5 separate regions of the Homo sapiens genome follow, and all the other regions are linked to region 5. The links are contacts of gene promoters, found by promoter capture Hi-C in blood cells and fetal thymus (Javierre and others, 2016). All regions are on one chromosome and are shown on one strand. Each heading gives the region's core, a stretch centred on a gene start or on the middle of the fragment in contact. The rest is flanking DNA. Distances are from core to core; before and after follow the strand shown. Region 1 has its middle 23 kb from the start of CDIN1. Region 2 overlaps CDIN1 (CDAN1 interacting nuclease 1). Region 3 overlaps CDIN1 (CDAN1 interacting nuclease 1). Region 4 overlaps CDIN1 (CDAN1 interacting nuclease 1). Region 5 holds the start of DPH6 (diphthamine biosynthesis 6).

Region 1 (3,426 bases), core at 285-2,784, 1.0 Mb after region 5:
AATTGAATAGAAGTAAATTTAACCAAGGAAGTGAAGAAAACTTCAAAACATTGTTAAAATAAATTAAAGACCTAAATGAATAAAAGGTCATGCTATATTCATTAAGTGAAAGACTTAATATTGTTAGGATGGCAGTACTACCGAAATCTGTAGATTCAATGAAATCTGTGTCTGTATTAATGCAATCTATACATCTATAGTCAATTTGATTTTTTTTTTTTTTTTTGGAGATGGAGTCTCGCTCTGTTGCCCAGGCTGGAGTGCGGTGGCACCATCTTGGCTCACTGCAACCTCTGCCTCCTGGGTTCAAGTGATTCTCCAGCTCAGCCTCCTGAGTAGCTGGGATTACAGACACACACCACCACACCTGGCTAATTTTTGTATTTTTAATAGGGACAGAGTTTCACCATGTTGGCCAGGCTGGTCTTGAACAGCAGCCTCAAGTGATCCACCTGCCTCAGCCTCCCGAAGTGCTGGGATTACAGGCATGAGCCAGCGCACCCAGCTCAATTAATTTTTGACAATGGTGCCAAGACTATTCAATAAAGAAAAAATAGTTTTTTTAAGAAATGCCACTGGGACAATTGGATGTCCATATGTAAATAACTGGACCCCATACCTAACACCACATATAAAAATTAATCTCAGAATTGACCAAATACACAAAGCTTATGGAAACATAGATGTAAATCTTCATAACCTTGGATCAGGCAATTTTTCTTTTTTTTGAGACGGAGTTTTGCTCCTCAGGTGATCCTCCCACCTTGGCCTCCCAAAGTGCTGGGATTACAGGCATGAGCCACCGTGCCCAGCCTGGGTGATATTTCTTAACTATGATACCAAAACATAAGCAACAAAACAATATAGATAAGTTGGACTTAATCAAAATTAAAAATGTTTGTGCATCAAAGGACACTCTCAAGAAAGTGAAAAGATAATCCACAAGGTGAAAGAACATTTTTATAAATCATATATCTGATAAAGTTCTCATGCCCAGAATATATTTTATATAAAGAACAATAAAAATTCCTCAAAAGTATTTAAAAACAAGTGAAGTAAAAACAGACAAAAAGGAACAATGAAAAGTCAATCTAATTAAAAACTGGAAAAAAGACAGCCAGGCGCGGTGGCTCACGCCTGTAATCCCAGCACTTTAGGAGGCAGGTGGATGGATCACCTGAGCTCAAGTTTGAGACCAGCCTGACCAACATGGTGAATCCTCGTCTCTACTAAATACAAAAAATTAGCTGGGCATGGTGGCACACGCCTGTAATCCCAGCTACTTGGGAGAGTGAGGCAGGAGAATCGCTTAACCTGGGAGATGGAGGTTACAGTGATCCGAGATTGTGCCATCGCACTCCAGCCTGGGCAACAAGAGAGAAACTCCATCCCAAACAACAACAACAACAACAACAACAACAACAACAACAACAACAACAAACTGGACAAAGGATATTTTGGACAAACAGCTATTTCTCCAAAAAAGATATACAAATGGCAAATAAATGCATGAACAGGTTAGCCACATCATTAGTCATTAGGGAAATGCAGATCAAAACCACAATGAAATATACACTAATAAAACATACACTTAATAAAATATACACTTAATAAAACATACACTAAATTGGTTATAATTTTACAAATAGGAATTAATAACTCTTGGTGAGGATATGAAGAAATTGGAACCTGCATACATTACTAGTGAAAAATTCCAATCTTATGTATGTACCCAAAAGGACTGAAAGCATATGTTTGCACAAAAACTCGCACATGAGTTTGACTATTTTTTTCACATTGAATAGTCTTGGCACCATTGTCAACAATCAATTGACTATAGATGTATAGATTTAATTAATATAGACATAGATTGCATTGAGTCTATAGATTTGGGTAGTATTGCCATCTTAAACAATATTAAGTCTTTCAGCAATATGTTCATAATAATCAAATAATGGAAACAAACCAAATGTTCATCAACTGATACACGGATTTTTAAAATGTGATATATCCATACAGTAGAATACTATTCATTGATGAAAAGGAGTGTGTAATGATACAGGCTACAATATGGATGCACCTTGAAAACATTATGCTGAATGAAAAAAGTCAGACACAGAAGGTTACATATTGTTTAAGTTCATTTACATGCAATGCCCAGAGGAGGCAAATATATAGAAACAGAAAGTAAATTAGTGGTTGCCAGAGAATGGGGGAGTTAACACATAAAAATCCCATTCTATATGCCAAGTCCTCTGCTAAGTCCTTTGCAGATATTATCTCATCTGTTCACTGCAGATAGGTACAAGTATTATCCTGCTTTTATATTATATCTGGCAAAATTGGAGCATGAAAATGATTAAGTAAATTCATACATCTAGTATGTAGCAGAACTAGAAGGTAAGCTTAGGTCTTGCCAACTTTAAGCCTGGAATCTCAAAGGTGGTATGCAGGAGCTGAATCCTACAAGCTTGAAAACTAATTGCCTGCATCTTTTCCCAACTTCAAGTTCAGTAACTTCATGTTCACAGACTGAAATTGGCTATGGTGGAAATATTATGTATTTACATAGTGGAAATTGGCAAATACTACAAATCAGGGTTGTTTTTTCTGAACAGTTTACTAGCTCTCAACCACTATATTAATCAGCCTCCATAGGCAAATAAATATAATGGCTTATTTTAAAAACACCCAATTAATACATTAAGAAAGTTCTATATATTAAGTCAAGAGAAAATTCATTTAAAATTTTGGGCTATAATCTATCCACTTTATACCTACTATATACTGATATAAACAATTTTTCTAATTTTGGATTTGTGAGATGTTTTATTCCAAAATTCACATGTTATCGCAAGAAATTTTTAGAAAGGTAAATATGGTGATTTGTAATCAGAACTGGGTATCAGAAACTACTAATATCCACATTGTTATGTATGTTTTGCCATTTTCTGGAGTAGGCTATTAGCTGGAAACCTGAAAAATGATTTATAAATACTAAATATATAATTTTTACCTGAAGTATTTTTCTTTTACAAAGTGGAATTTGAGGAAAAAGGTACTACACCTATTTCTTCATAATAAACAATGTGTCTAAAGCAAAATTACTTAGATGCAATGTGACTTATGAAAGCATGAATTTGTTTTAAAGGGAGGTCACATTACAGATACAAAGAAATGAGAACATCCGGATTTATTTCCCCTCCTTTCATTAAGCATGAGCAAACAAATTCCGTTTGAAATTTTCTGAATCTAGTATCTTCCTGAGTTTAAAATTTTTAATTGGTGGAAGTCTTTATGACCATTCTGCAAATCTCTACTTTTAAAAATTAATTCATACACATTATATCGGTAGGTATTCTTCATTCATGGGAAAAAGGGGATTGGGTTTCTAACTGGATCTTTCAAAGGTTCAGGTAGCTGTGT
Region 2 (3,815 bases), core at 53-2,552, 1.1 Mb after region 5:
AACATATGTTGAGCTGCTACGTGAACAGCTTAATGACTAAATTATGTTAATCTGTCTTGCCATCTTTATATTTTGTTAAAAATTGCACTATTTGTATTATAGATATTTATATATTTGTGGGTTGGGGCAGGGATAAGAAGAAGGCATAAGAAAGGTGCAGGTCAGCTCCACGATGTTCTGACAGTGATCCAGGGCTCCTCAGCTGTGCAGTGTACATAACACAGATGTTGGGGAGTCATCTGTCAGCCATGCCTCTCCTATGGAGTTAAAGTTCTAGAGGGAAAAGAATTTGACACAGTGCTGTCACTGTTACATTTTCACAATAGAAGAGCATGCAAATATTGAACCTCCTGCTTAGCAATAGTGCCCTGTCTAATGTCTGTGCTGGTTAGAATAAAAAATCATGGGTGCATCTTGGGCTCAGAGATCTGACAAAGGTCATGCTATGTTGGGCATTTGAATTGGAAATTGTCTGGACTTAGATTTTATAAAGCTCCCACTGTTGTGTGTGGGGAGAATTTCAGCAGGGTTTTGTCCCTGGAGAGGCCTCTTAGGCCCTTTTCTGTCCTATGAATGAATTTAGATGTGAGGGTTACTCCTGCCTTAAAACTGTTAAGTTCATTTTGCATACATCCCTAGAGAGAAAAACTGGCAGATGCTTTTGTCTTGGAAGTGTTTAAAAGAAAACTGCAGAGCAGGAACAAGGGAGAAAAGGGGCCCTGTGTGGAGTCCCAGAACATTTTGGAAATGGCCAATATGCAGTTTTCATCAGTATGAAGGCGGGGTGCAATATGGTGCCTGTAGTTCACGAGGGAATATGAATGTTGATTAAGCATACTCCCAGGCTTTGAAATTCTGAAAGCAGTGTCAGAATAATGGATGTTGAGCAAATGTCAAGCATTTGTTAATTTCTCTGTTATTTGGAGTTTATCTACCATGATCAATCAAATAAACTAGTGCTTCTCTCTTGTGGCATGTGTCATTGATATGGTGATTAGGTGGCTAGAGAGACCTTCTGCTTTTTTTCCAGGTAACAGATTATAAACGAGTAGACAGAGCTTTTCAGTTAAAGATTTGTTTATGGCTTGGTTTAGTAGAAATTTGTATATTAACTGAATACTTTGGTGGCAGTGTGAAAATCCGTGGCCACATGTCAAAGACATAAATTCTGGGACCATTTATACCAGGAGAACTAGTATTGGAGGCATGTTTTCCATCAAAGTATAGTTTTCAGTAGTTTATGAAACTTTGATGTAAAACTGGACAAAAGAAATGGATCCTAGATGAATGCTAACCTTAACATTTGTAGATAGACTTTTCAATCCATTTTTATGTCATTTTTCCTATTTCAATGGTTAATTCTAAGTTAGTGATTGACTTTTATTCGTGAGTGAGAGTAAATTTGTTTCATGTGATTCAACATAATTTCTATTATTTTTAGGAAGTAATGCTACAGTGTTTTGATGTCCCAAGTAGGGGTATCAAAAAAAAAAAAGTAAAAGGTTCCTTTCAGAGTTTACTTAACTGTGGATTATTGTGCAGTGCTAACATTCTGCAGTGTGAGGAGTTGGTTCCCTTTTAGAATGTGAATGACTTTACCAACTGGGATTTCATTAGGGGTTGAGACTAGGTACGATGTGTAACTGTCCTACCCTTCAGCACGGGGTAACTTGGACTGAAAAGGGACCTTTATGTGAAATTTTAGTGGCTGGAATCAAGGTAGATTTGTGATTGGAGATTTGTCCTTTTTCTATACCCCATTTTCTTTTCGTAGTCTTAGGCTTGTAGCTTACATGATTCAGATGGAGACTAGTGTAATACTTACCACCCTTGACCATGTCCAACAGGTACCTCTGTGGTCTTTGGCATGGATATTTTTGCAAAACGACCTACTGAGGTGATCTGTCACCTATTATTAAACCTCATGAACTTGTTTTTTCAGGGGATTCACAACTGAGCAGCCACAGGGCATTGTAAAACCCCAGTGAACTAACTACTTGTGTGATTTCTGGAGCTCTTTGGTTTTCTCAGTCTGCCATGAGGTCACAAATATGGCAGTTTCCAAAGCAGAACATTTTTAGCTTCCTCTTCAAGCTAAGCTGCTTTATCTTAACTGTCTACATTAGACCTTTGCTTTTGGCCTTCTCTGGGACTGGAATTCCTAACCGTATGAGTAAAATCCTCGTGTCCTGCCTGGCACACAGTGCTAGTGAGCTCTACCATTGTACTGCCTCCAGCATCATAAAAATAGACAGCAGTGCTGATTGACTTTTCTGGGCTGCTCTCTGAAAATTCGTCATGAACCTGACACGATCATAGCATCACTGAATCATTAACTTGCACCATACACCAAAACACTCAGGGTTTTATCGATAGCAGCTCTCAATTTTTTTTTGTATTCATAGTGATAAAGCTACTATTATTCCTAATTGGGATTAGGAAGACATGAAAAATCTTGTTAGGGTGTTGAAAAATTATTATGTAACAGTAAGAGGGAAAGAGTTTGAATTTCACTTACTGTGAATTCTTAAGCGTATGTGCTCAGCGTGAACGCTTCCAGCCACTCCAGTGGAAGGGGCTGATGGTTTTGGTTGGTGGTGTGCCCTGTGCCTGCCAGGCTATCAGCGCCTGCATCTTGTCTTCTACTTAACTCTTCTAATGTCCTCCAATAACCAAACTTTTATTTTCCCTCACATGTATTGCAACTATAAATTAATGGCTCACAGTTTTAAAAGTGCTATAATGAATACTATTTCCTACTGCGGACACATTGTAATGATAGCAAAAACACTTTTGGGACTTCTCTTTTGGCAAGTATTTTTGGAGTGTGTGACACAGTGTCTTTGGTACTTTTGAGAATGGAGACAAAAGGCATTATTAAGTTTGAAAAATAAGGGGGCTGATGTTACTAGGTGACCATAAATTCTAGAGACATAATTATTTTGCCATGTGTTATAATTCAATAACAATAAATCCTTTATTGTATTTATCTGTGTTTCTAGACGTGGTGGCCACCCTGTATTTTGGTGAGATGTGAGATGTGACTGTGAAGTTGGTTTTCTTGTGTAACTGGTAAAGTGGTTCTAAAGTGATTCTTAAAGATAAGTTGGGCTGGGCGCAGTGGCTCACGCCTGTAATCCCAGCACTTTGGGAGGCCGAGGCGGGCAGATCACGAGGTCAGGAGATCGAGGCTCGAGCCATCCTAGCTAACACGGTGAAACCCCGTCTCTACTAAAAAAAAATATATATACAAAAAATGAGCCAGGCGTGGTGGCAGGCACCTGTAGTCCCAGCTACTTGGGAGGCTTAGGCAGGAGAACGGCGTGAATGCGGGAGGCAGAGCTTGCAGTGAGCCGAGATCATGCCTCTGCACTCCAGCCTGGGTGACAGAGACTCCGTCTCAAAAAAAAAAAAAGGTAAGTTGTGTTTTTGAGCCATGGCAGCATCATTGGTGCTAAATATACAAATCACACTCCTCTGGGATTATTACTTTGGCCAAAGATAATGTGAGTAAATTAGCTCCTTCTTTTAGCTGAAAAAGTTTATTTTGTTACTTTATCCTTGTACTTAGTAAGTGCAGACTCTCCTTCCTTAACTATTAGCCCTTATTTTATGCCCACCTTTTCTCTGTGCTCCCCAAATGTAGACTGACTACTCAGAAGCTAAAGACACATTCCCTTTAACTAACCTGTTTCCGTTACCCGTCTCTCTGGTGGTTGTTTATAAGGCAGGCTTCTTAGAGGAAGAAGAAAAGTAAAGGGTTAGATAATCTAACTAGGCAGTTAATCCTTGAAAACCAGAGTGGTAGCTCAATT
Region 3 (3,787 bases), core at 1,046-3,545, 1.0 Mb after region 5:
TCTCTTCCTCTCCCTCTTTTTCTCTTTTTCGTTCTTTTCTCTAGCAAATACCTTGTCTTCTCTATAATAAGTAAGTGTCTGTTACTTTAATCAACACTTACAAAAGCCTCCCTTCTGTCTGGTGTATTCTCTTATGCTCTTTTCTTTCTTATTCATGATATACTCAAATCTTTTTCACTTCTCCCAAATGCCATACAGGGAATAAATAACAACTCTCCTTCCACAGGAAACTTTATTTAGAGAGAGCTGAACTACTAATCCGCAAAAGAAGGGATTAAAGAGCTATTTAGGGCTGGGTGTGGTGGCTCACGCCTGTAATCCCAGCGCTTTGGGAGGCCGAGATGGGAGGATCACTTGAGGCCAGGAGTTCCAGATCAGACTGGGCAACGTAGCAAAACCCCGTCTCTAATAAAAATCCAAAAAATTAGCTGGGTGTGGTGGCATGTGCCTTTAGACCCAGCTACTCAGCTACTCCTGAGGCTGAGGTGGGTGAATCACCACATCAAGGTGATTGTTACCTTGTTGCATTACAATCCATTGGCCTATTTTGAACTTGAATGGATCTTTTACCCATGCCTGATTTGTTATCATCGTGCATTATTCCTTTGTAAAATGTTGCTTGTGAGTTGTGCAGATCTTACAAATGTCACCTTTCATTATACAATATCAAAAAATTACATTTGTTAATATCATCTCTAATCTCATCAGAAGTCTGTAAGATTTGAAGCTGTCAAGCTTGTGGTGATGGATATGAGCATTCCAGTATTTGAATTTTCCCTTGAAAGCTCAAATTTTATCATTGGCAACAAATGCTATTAGTTGTTTTCCTTGAAATGACAGGCTCACATTGTTTATTTTTGAGAAAGTGTCTGCCAGATACTTAAATCTGAATAATATACTTTGTTATCATTAATTCAAGTAAAAATGGTGTTCCCTAGAAAAAGTAGCTAGTTCAGCTCTCAAACAGTCATACAAGTGCTTTCCTGGGAGGCAACCATCATACTTTGATATGAAGTATATGTGCTTTGTATTTACTCTAGTCATACAGAATGTTAAAAGGTTGTGTATTCAAGGGTTGAGATTTAATGCAATTAATAAGAGAATATTCTTTAGTGAAAGTCTTGTTTTGTTTTGTTTTTCCTGCACGTGTGTGGCAGTGAATACAGTGACTACTAGTACAGTTATGATGCCTATGATTTGTGCCTTGTTTTATGCTCAGGAGCTGGCAGTTTTACTCACCATTGTTTTTGTACCATAAGTCCAAATGTGAATACAGCGCAAAAGGAAAATACTATCTTGCTATTTTTATAAAAATAGTCGTGTTGACCCTGTAGACCTGTGAGAGGGTCTCAGGGACTCCAAGTCCACAGCCACACTTAGACAATCACTAGCTAATTCAAATCAAAGCATAATTATGTTTTCAAGGATTTTGATGTATACTGACAAATTTAAAAAAATTGTACTAGTCCTTTTACTAGCAGAGCGTGAGAGTCTCTGTCTCTGCAACTTTTCCAGTATTGAGAAGAGTCATTATTTAATCTTTAATATGTTCGATCAAGAATGACATCTTGTAGTTAGCATTTTAAAAATTATTATAGGTTGTACCTTTTTCCAAATTTTTTTGACCACTTAATTTTCCTTTGAATTACCTGTTTGGTATCCTTTGCCTAATTTTCTGTTGGCATGTCTGTTGTTATTGTTTATTGATTTATTACTTATTGATCTGCATATGTTCAGGATGCTGGTCCTATATATGTCATATTTGTTGCATAAATTTTCTCAGTTGTTTGATTTTAAATATTGTTCTGCTTTTGATATGGTTAACTTTTAAATGTATGCTTTTTTTTTCTGACATTTTTGCCTTTATACTTAGGAAGTTCTTTTCTGTCCTAATATATGAAAGAAAAAAATATTTCACCTAAATTTTCTTTTAGATTCTTTATGGCTTTGTTTTTTATTCTTAATTTTTAAATCTTTCTGGCTGAAATTTATTTTAGTAAATGCTGAGAGGTGAAGATGTAGCTTAATTTTTTCTCCAGCTTAATTTTTCCTCTTACTGTGACTTCTGGGGTAGCCTCACTTCTTCATGGCTTGTTTTGACTGAAGTTACAAAATTATGTTTTTTCAAGTCACTGTGTTTTACGTGGTCTCAGAATCCTTCACTTTAAAATGAAGGAGTAGGACTTTGTGATCTGTAATATCTTACAACTCCAAAATTCACCCTCATTCTATTTTCGTTTCTACAGTTTTACCATACAGTAAGTCATCATTTAATGTCTTCGGTAGGGCTTTGGAGACTGCAACTTTAAGTGAAACAATGTATAATGAGAGCAATTTTACCATATGCTAATTGTTATAAACAAGAATTAAGTTCCTATAGCATATTTCTGGTCATAATAACATCACCAAACTTCTAAATAAAGACCCAAGGCTGGGCACTGTGGCTCAAGCCTGTAATCCCGGCACTTTGGGAGGCTGAGGCGGGCAGATCACGAGGTCAGGAGATCGAGACCATCCTGGCTAACACAGTGAAACCCCGTCTCTACTAAAAATACAGAAAATTAGCTGGGCACGGTGGCGGGCGCCTGTAGTCCCAGCTACTCAGGAGACTGAGGCAGGAGAATGGCATGAACCTGGGAGGCAGAGCTTGCAGTGAGCTGAGATGGCGCCACTGCACTCCAGCCTGGGTGACAGAGCAACACTCCGTCTCAAAAAAACCATAAAAAATAAAATAAAGACCCAAAACACATCTAATATTAAACATTGAAATTAATGTGAGCCTAAACAAGTAAGATAATTATTTACCCAATTTTTGGTGAATCAGTGAGTGATGGTGGTCATAGTGGTGGTGGATTAAATCTAAGAGTATGTGTTTGCAAAGTGAAATTTGTGAGAAGCACCTCTTACCACCATGTATTCAAAAGCAAACAATAGCCTGTTCAACAGAGCGAGACCCTGTCTCTTCAAAAAAATTTAAAAATTAGCCAGGTGTGGTGGTACATGCTTGTAGTTCCAGCAACTCAGGATGCTAAGGTGAGAAGATTGCTTAAGCCTGGGAGTTTGAGGCTGCAGTGAGTTAGGAACGTGCCACTGCAGTCCAGCCTGAGCCACAACAGTTAGACTCTGTCTCTAAAAACAAAAAACAAAAAGCAAACAATAACAAATGTGGTGAGCTTGCTGAGCACTTGTGTACTGCATCTTTATTGTCATGCGTTTGTATGATTATCATAGATTTATGAATTTTTATTTTACAGTAATTTGTATTCATTCATTTATTCACTTATTCATTCATTTATTTACCAACCCGCTTATTCCAGTTTAGGATTCTGAGTGGCCTCTGGCAGCTCAGGCTGCAAGGTATGAAGCCATCCCAGCACGGGACACGCTCACACACACTCCCATACTCACTCACACTGGGGCTATTTAGACATGCCAGTTCTGCAGACACGTACATCATTGAGATGTGGAAGGAAACCAGAGTACTGGGAGAAAGTTCACGCAGACGTCAGGAGAACATGCAAACTCCACACAGACAGTGGCCCCAGCCAGGAAACAATTTTTAAAAATACTCATCAACTTTATAACAAAATAATGTTGAACAAAATAACGTTATTTGAAGACTTTCTGTAATGGGCCCTTTGGCACCTGAAACATAGGACATACTACATTTGAAGTACTTGCTGAGGACATATTTATTGATTGACATTTTTTAATCTTTCTTGTGGACATTCTTAGAAGCCCCTGGTCCAATCAGCTGTTACTTATAAGGTTATATTTTACATTATAA
Region 4 (3,542 bases), core at 692-3,191, 1.1 Mb after region 5:
TGACCACAGACCCTGATGTAATTCTTGAAGTGTTAAGTTCTTCTCCCATGGTACAAATTGATGAGAAGGGTAAAAAAGTGAGCCAAGTCATAAGCGTTGTATTGTGATTCTTAGAGAGATTCCTGAAACAACACCAATAGAGGAAGTGAAAGCTTTGTTCAAATTGAAAACTGCCCCAAAGTGATAAGTTGTGAGTTTGCACACAGTAGCAGCTGGTATATCACTTTCCAGTCAGACACAGATACACAAAAGGCTTTTAAATCCTTAAGAGAAGAAGTTAAAACATTTCAGGGCAAGCCAATTATGGCAAGGATAAAAGCCATCAATACATTTTTTGCTAAGAATTGTTACTAATTAATGGATTCTAGTATCTATAGTCAGCCCATTCAGACTCAAGCACAGTATGCCTCCCCAGTCTTTATGCAGCCTGTATATAATCTTCACCAGCAGTTCTCGGTCTATAGTATTATTCCTCAGTCTTGGTCTCCAAATCCTACACCTTACTTTGAAACACCACTGGCCCGCTTTCCCAATGGTAGTTTTGTGAATGGCATTAATTCACCAGGATCTTATAAAAGACATGCTACTGCTATGAATATGGGTCGACCATTCCAAAAAAAAACCTGAAGCCTCATTTTAGGTCATCCAGTGGTTCAGAACACTCAACAGAGGACTCTGTATCATTGGGGGATGGACAATTGAACAGATCTAGTTCAAAAAATTTTTCAACTGAAAGCATAATCCTACAGTAACTGGGGATTAGGAGCAAACTTAACTTCAAAAGGAGACTTCCACTTTGCAGATGGAACAAAATGGGGACTATGGTAGGGGCAGGAGAACTCTTTTCAGAGGTCGAAGATGACGACAAGATGTCAATCTCAAGACCTCATCCTTCAACAGCTGAATCAAAGCCTCCAACACCAAAGTTTGACTTACTAGCCTCAAATTTTCCACCTTTACCTGGAAGTTCATCAAGAATCCCAGATAAACTCATTTTGGAGAATAGGATGTCTGATGTTGTTAAAGGTGTCTACAAAGAAAAGGATAATGAAGTGTTGAGAGTTAGTTGCCCAGTGCCTGCAGATGAGCAGACAGAATGCACTTCTGCCCAGCAACTCAGTATGAGTACCAGTTCTCCATGTGCAGCTGAGCCTACTGCATTAAGCACAACTCAGCCAAAAAAAAAAAAAAAAAAAGGATCTAATAGAGGATTCCTCTGTTCAGAAGGATGGTCTCAACCAGACAACTATACCAGTTTCTCCTCCAAGTACTACAAAGCCATGGAGGGCAAGTACTGCCTCACCATGTAATCGTAACATAAATGTAGCTACACCGTGACTCTACAGGAACCCTGAAAGTTAAGTTATGCTGAAGTGTGCCAGAAGCCCCCTAAAGAGCCATCTTCAGTTCTTGTGTAGCCACTATGGGAACTTCGCTCCAATGTAGTGTCTCCCACGACAAACAAAGACAATGAAGCTCCTTAGAAGTCCCTTGAGAAACCAAATGAGAAGCCAGAAGCAAGGGCTAGTAAGGATTATTCTGGCTTCTGAGGCCATACCATTCCCAGGGGAGCAGCTGGAAAAATCAGGGAACAGAGATGCCAGTTTAGTCGTAGGGCTATACCTCAGGGAGTGACATGACGTAATGGCAAAGAGCAATATGTGCCACCCAGATCACCAAAGTAAAAAACAACAAAACTATTCAAAAACTTCTCTCTCTTCCCGTTAAACTTGAGCTGTAGCTATATTGAACTGTTTTGGAGGGGAGAGGGTAACCAGGAAGGAAACAGGAGAAAGTACATCCTTAAATCATTATGGATTTTGGAGTTGTGAGTGATAGGATCCCAAAATTCATCTCTGATGTGATTTATAAATGCTGGAGGATTTCTATCTATCTATCTATCTATCTATCTATCTATCTATCTATCTATCTATCCATCCATCCACACACACATATAAAGTGTATTTTTTCTATTTTTGTTTTTGGTTTTAATTTGCAGAGATTTGCTGCCAGGAATCAATTTTGAGGGTTCAGTTTCAGCTTGGAGGAAAAAAAAAAACAACATTATACATCCTTCAGTATAGGAGATGAGGGAGTGAGAGGAAATATTTTTTGAAGAAGCATTTCTGTAAAATTAGAAATTACTTTTTAAAATCTATTTAAAGTTTGGCGTGGAGAATGCCATCTCTGATTATATGGCCTTGTATTGCAAAGCGGATTAGTGGCTGGGGTGCCTGTTGTGGGTGTGAGTGTGTACAAGAGCGATTGAAGCAAAATCTGTTGTCATGTTAGTAAATGATTTGAAAACTGAATGTAAAACTTGAGTAGATTTTTTTTTTTTAGTTTGAAATTGAGTCTGTCTTTTTGACCTTACTAATATTTCCTTCAACAAGTTGTAAAACTGTGATTGTACTTGGACATGTGACTACTAATCAGTTTGATACTCAAGGAAAGAATGGGGTTTCTTAAAAACATTGAAAATTTCGGCCGGGTGCGGTGGCTCTCGCCTGTAATCCCAGCACTTTGGGAGGCCGAGGTGGGCGGATCACGAGGTCAGGAGATCGAGACCATCCTGGCTAACACGATGAAACCCCGTCTCTACTAAAAATACAAAAAATTAGCTGGGAGTGGTGGCGGGCGCCTGTAGGCCCAGCTACCCGGGAGGCTGAGGCAGGAGAATGGCGTGACACCGGGGGGCGGAGCTTGCAGTGAGCCGAGATGGCGCCACCGCACTCCAGCCTGGGCGACAAAGCGAAACTCTGTCTCAAAAAAAATAAAAATAAAATAAAAATAAAAATAAATTGAAAATTATCTTGGACCTCAGTGTGTAGGTGAAATATATTTCAGAGTCTTAAAATTCCCTGTGATTCCCCCTGCTAAAATGGGAAACAATTTTTTTTTCTTACTCCATATGTTATTCTCTGTTCTTTGACTGCCCATCCCCAAAAGCAAAATAACCAACTACTTACTGAATTATATTTGTCATTGCTTTGACCAGTCTAGTCAAATCATATAAATTGTTCTAAATTTCAGAATTGAACATTGAAGTATTTACTCTTCTGTTCACACATTGAGAATTTTAGGTCCCAAGATGGTAAGGCGGACTGACCTTACAGTAATTTATTTGCTGTCAGTGTTAAAGATGAAACATTGTGACTGACTCTTAAGTGTTAAATAGTGTAGAAGTAAAATATTATTTTTTTTTTAAAGGCTTAATTTTGGGGGGGGACTTATTTCTGTTTACAGTGTATTTATCACCTTCCTTTCCTCCTCTTCTTCCCCCACACCCAAAAAATACAGTTTGGAATTCACTGAAACAGAACCAGCAAGTCATGAGATTTTTTAGTAAAGATGAGAAAGATGGTTGAAGAAAATTAATGCATAATTTCTCAGTGAATCAAGTTGTAGCTCTCATATACTAAATACACAAGTTTACATGCTGTTATTTAGAAAATGGCTAAAATATTAAAAGCCATGTTGTGTTTATCTGTTTTAAGTCATACCATGTTTAGAGTTCTATGTAAGGTGGGTTTTATTTTTCT
Region 5 (3,573 bases), core at 617-3,116:
TCTATGAGAGCATATGGACACAGGGAGGGGCACATCACACACTGGGGCCTGTGGGGGTTTGGGGGTTAGGGGAGGGATAACATTAGGAGAAATACCTAATGTAGGTGATGGGTTGATGGGTGCAGCAAACCACCGTGGCACATGTATACCTATGTAAAAAAACTGCACGTTCTGCACATGTAACCCAGAACTTAAAGTATAATAAAAAAAAAATTTAAAAAAGGAAAATAATCTTCTTAGAAAGATATGTAAGAATCCCAGTTTCACTTATTCACTTATAATACATAATTATATATAATGCATATATATAGAATACATAGGCATCTGTATCATAAGCATACAGGTAAATGCTTACGTATTCATACTTACAGCATATGTCCTTACAGCTCTTACGCTTCAGCAAGAATTTTCCAACATTGCTTTTTTAGCAAACTTTTTTTATTATAAAGCAACATATGCACATTACAGGTTATTTAGTGTAACTGACTCTACCAATCTTCTCTCCTCCCCTCCAATACTTCTAAGTCTTTGTTTGTTGTGCTTTACTTTAATCGTTAAACTTTTGGCAAGCGATGTAAATTTGAATTATTCACTTCCTGGGGTACTTTTAATTCTTAAAATAAGACACAATGGTTAAAGCTTAATCATTTATGTTACAGAGGACATTTACTGAACAACAATAATTATTGTGACATTATGGTCTAGTCTCCTAAAAATGACATTGAAGGAAAGGGAACCGGAATATTCCAGACACTACAGTAGGTCTGAAATCTCATATCAAGTCCTTAATAGGTCAAAACTTACAGCCAGTATCAATTACCTAAGGGACTTAACGAAAACGTTTATGAAATCTTCAATTGGATTACAAAAGCAAGCACATCGTTGCACTGTATCTAAGACACTCTACAGGGCAAAATCTCATGAAACAAGTATTTAAGTAGTCTAACTTTTTAATGTTGCTAGTGTGTTCCCTTCTGCCTCAGTTTATAGATTGAGTATGGAAATATTTAAGCAGGTTTGTTTTTGGTTTGTCAGTCACAGGACTTATTTAGACACTTAAATTTATGATTTGGTTACTACAGACATCAAACTCCTTTTGGAATACGGAGTATAGGGTAAGGTCACTCTAAAGCAATGATGAGAGTCCGAAGCAACAGCAACTGGATCTAGCATAAGACTAGTACAATTCGGTCTCTACCACGAAGAGAGATCTCTGTACTTGAGTGCCCAAAGGCAGAAACACACACATGCCATAAGCAATCCACATCTGTGAAGATGAGGGAGGGGTGGACTTCTTGGGATGGGCGGAAACACTTACAACTAGGGAGGAAGCCAGGCTGCGGCGGACCCAGCTGACCAAAGGAACTACAGAAGAGGACGAAGAAAGCGAGGGGGAAAGGGCGAGGGTTATTAACTGAGTTGATGGAATAAGGTAGTGGCTCCAAACTTCACGGCTCATTAGAGCTTGAAAAAAAAAAATCAGACGCCGGGTCGCACAGAAGTAATTAAACCAATCCCTCTGGCGGTGGGGCCCAGGCGTCGGTACTTTTTTTAATTTCCCACTTGAATCCAATGGGAATCCAAGTTTAAGGGCTAGAAGACCAGAGAGCGACAGACAGGGAGGAGGCGCGCCAGCCAGGGGCCGAGGCACATGCGGGCCGGCAACAGCGAAGGCTCCGCCTCTTCCTGTGGCTCGGAGGAGCCGCGGAACCCCCAACGCGCGACTCAGACGGAGACACCCACTCTTTCGGCGCTAGCGGCGGCTGGAAGGGACGAGAGCCTGGCCTAGGAGGAAGGAGGCGGCTCCAGGACCGCATTACCTGATCAGAGCCGCGACCCTCATGCTGGGCGCAGTGCGCGTGCGTGCGGCGAGCGCGGGCGGGAGCCAGGAGGTCGCGCCGCAGCTCGCGTGACGCACCGCGGGGCCTCGCCCGGGTGTTCGCTCCGCCGCCTGTCCGCGGATCGGCGCTGCGAGCCCCGCGGCTGCCTGCGGGACACCTGAGCGCGGAGGGTGCGGCACCTTGGCACCTTGACCCTGTGGCAGGGACATCTCGGCCCAGGAAAGAATGAGGTTTAGGCACGGCCTAACCACCTAAGTGAGGGCACTGAAGCTGCCGGGGGAAGGGCAAGGTCCGCGTTGCAGAGCCCAAGCCCAGTGGCGCAGGATTTGTTTTGGTAAGAGGGGATTTAGCGTCCCAATTGCTGCAAATTGACACAGTTGCGGACGTGCAAGCGCAGAAGAAATTTGTCCTTCCTCACCCCACAGAACAGAAACAACTGTACACTTCTGCTTTTTAACTTACATCTCCTCTGTCCTCCAAACCTGTGTGTCCAGATGTGAAACTCAGATCCCCAGGGGCTGTGGTAATTTTTAAATCTGGGGCTAGCCCCCCCCACCTCTAGGCCCTCTGTGGCTTTGGCTCTTGGTCAAGCTTGTGTATTTGACAAGGCCAGGCCAGGCTCTTCACCAAAGAGCAATGGCCTTGCAGAAAGAAAATCTAGCTTCTAAGTTTATTTGCCAAGTATGTATTGAGTGCCTTTCGTGTACCAGGCACTGTTTTAGACTCTGTGGATACAACCGTAAATAAAACAAAAACCCGGCATTCCGGGCATAGAGCTTAAATGGGGATGGAGAGAACAGACAATACATATCTTAAAGGTAAATAGTCTGTTGAAGAGTGAAAAGTGCTATTGGAAAGGGGCGGGGTGCGGTGGGGGAGAGTCAGGAGAGAGGTGGAGAGGCAAATTGCAGAATTAAATCGTGTCTATGTAGGCCTTATTGGTAAGATGAGAGTTGAGCCAATTTAAATAAGGAGAGTTCGCTATGTGTATGATTGGGGTGTGCTCCAGACAAGAAAAAAAAATCGAAGGCTCTAGGTGCGTTGTGTGTTTGTGGAAGATTAAGGCAGATCCGTGTTGCTGGAGCAGATTGAGCAAAGCAGAGAGTAGTGGAGAGCAGGTTAAGGTGATGGAGGGGAAGGATTATATAGGGTCTTGTAGGTAATTGCAGACTTTTGAAGGGTGTGACTTAAAATTTTAAAAGGATTGCAGTGTTGAGAATCCACCTATTAGGAAGCTGTTACAGTGTTCCAGTAGAGAGATGGCGGAGCCTAGAATCAACATGGTGAATTTGGTGAGAAGTAAGAGGATTCCAGCTCTATTTTGAAGATAGAGCCAATAGAATCAAATTCGATATGGGATACAAGAGAAAGAAAGTCATGAGGGATGATGCCAAAGGCATGAATTAAGTAAGTTAATATATGTAGGGAACTTAAAATTATGCCAGGTACATAGTAAGCATTCAATTTTATTTTGACATTCTCAACTCTAATAGTAGGGGTGACTAGAGCAGTGACAGTCTACATATCAGTTTTAGCGTCTAGAATCATACAGCTTTAAGATTTTGCAGTTATGAATATTTACCAAATGAGTCAAGTATTTAAGAAGTTTGCAGTCTAATTGGAGGAGATAAATACGTGAAACACACTTAAAATGATACAGCTCCAATGAGTGGAAGAAGCACCAGGGCTCTCGTCTCATGCCGAATTGGGTAAAATGACACAGACACACATG

What was found. Contacts are between HindIII fragments. The CHiCAGO score rates a contact against its expected background, and 5 or more counts as called.
Region 1: a fragment that was not itself captured here is called in contact with the fragment with the promoter of DPH6 in region 5 in 1 of 17 cell types (activated CD4 T cells); the score reaches 5.3 in activated CD4 T cells.
Region 2: a fragment that was not itself captured here is called in contact with the fragment with the promoter of DPH6 in region 5 in 2 of 17 cell types (total CD4 T cells and activated CD4 T cells); the score reaches 6.1 in total CD4 T cells.
Region 3: a fragment that was not itself captured here is called in contact with the fragment with the promoter of DPH6 in region 5 in 11 of 17 cell types (naive CD8 T cells, total CD8 T cells, naive CD4 T cells and 8 more); the score reaches 28.1 in naive CD8 T cells.
Region 4: a contact is called between a fragment that was not itself captured here and the fragment with the promoter of DPH6 in region 5, in 1 of 17 cell types (fetal thymus). The highest score is 6.9, in fetal thymus.

Annotation. Positions count from the first base shown.
Region 1 is chr15:36,555,390-36,558,815 of GRCh38, forward strand. No RefSeq gene overlaps it. Among named protein-coding and RNA genes, the nearest start is that of CDIN1, 23 kb to the right of the region's middle. The HindIII fragment of the contact is 1,737 bases long and covers 667-2,403 here.
Region 2 is chr15:36,599,582-36,603,396 of GRCh38, forward strand. All of the region lies in intron 1 of CDIN1 (CDAN1 interacting nuclease 1), which reads left to right. Among named protein-coding and RNA genes, the nearest start is that of CDIN1, 22 kb to the left of the region's middle. The HindIII fragment of the contact is 7,589 bases long and covers 1-3,815 here.
Region 3 is chr15:36,581,306-36,585,092 of GRCh38, forward strand. The region is part of intron 1 of CDIN1 (CDAN1 interacting nuclease 1); the gene reads left to right. Among named protein-coding and RNA genes, the nearest start is that of CDIN1, 3.6 kb to the left of the region's middle. The HindIII fragment of the contact is 3,124 bases long and covers 734-3,787 here.
Region 4 is chr15:36,617,585-36,621,126 of GRCh38, forward strand. The region is part of intron 1 of CDIN1 (CDAN1 interacting nuclease 1); the gene reads left to right. It also overlaps the pseudogene LARP4P. Among named protein-coding and RNA genes, the nearest start is that of CDIN1, 40 kb to the left of the region's middle. The HindIII fragment of the contact is 3,582 bases long and covers 151-3,542 here.
Region 5 is chr15:35,544,299-35,547,871 of GRCh38, forward strand. DPH6 (diphthamine biosynthesis 6) reads right to left here and starts at 1,867. Exons shown (of 9, transcript NM_080650.4): 1 at 1,821-1,867. The coding sequence starts at 1,843. It overlaps DPH6-DT (DPH6 divergent transcript), which reads left to right and starts at 1,897. Exons shown (of 3, transcript NR_038251.1): 1 at 1,897-2,175. RefSeq lists an enhancer at 868-1,802 and silencers at 1,850-1,989, 2,290-2,339. The HindIII fragment of the contact is 1,793 bases long and covers 638-2,430 here.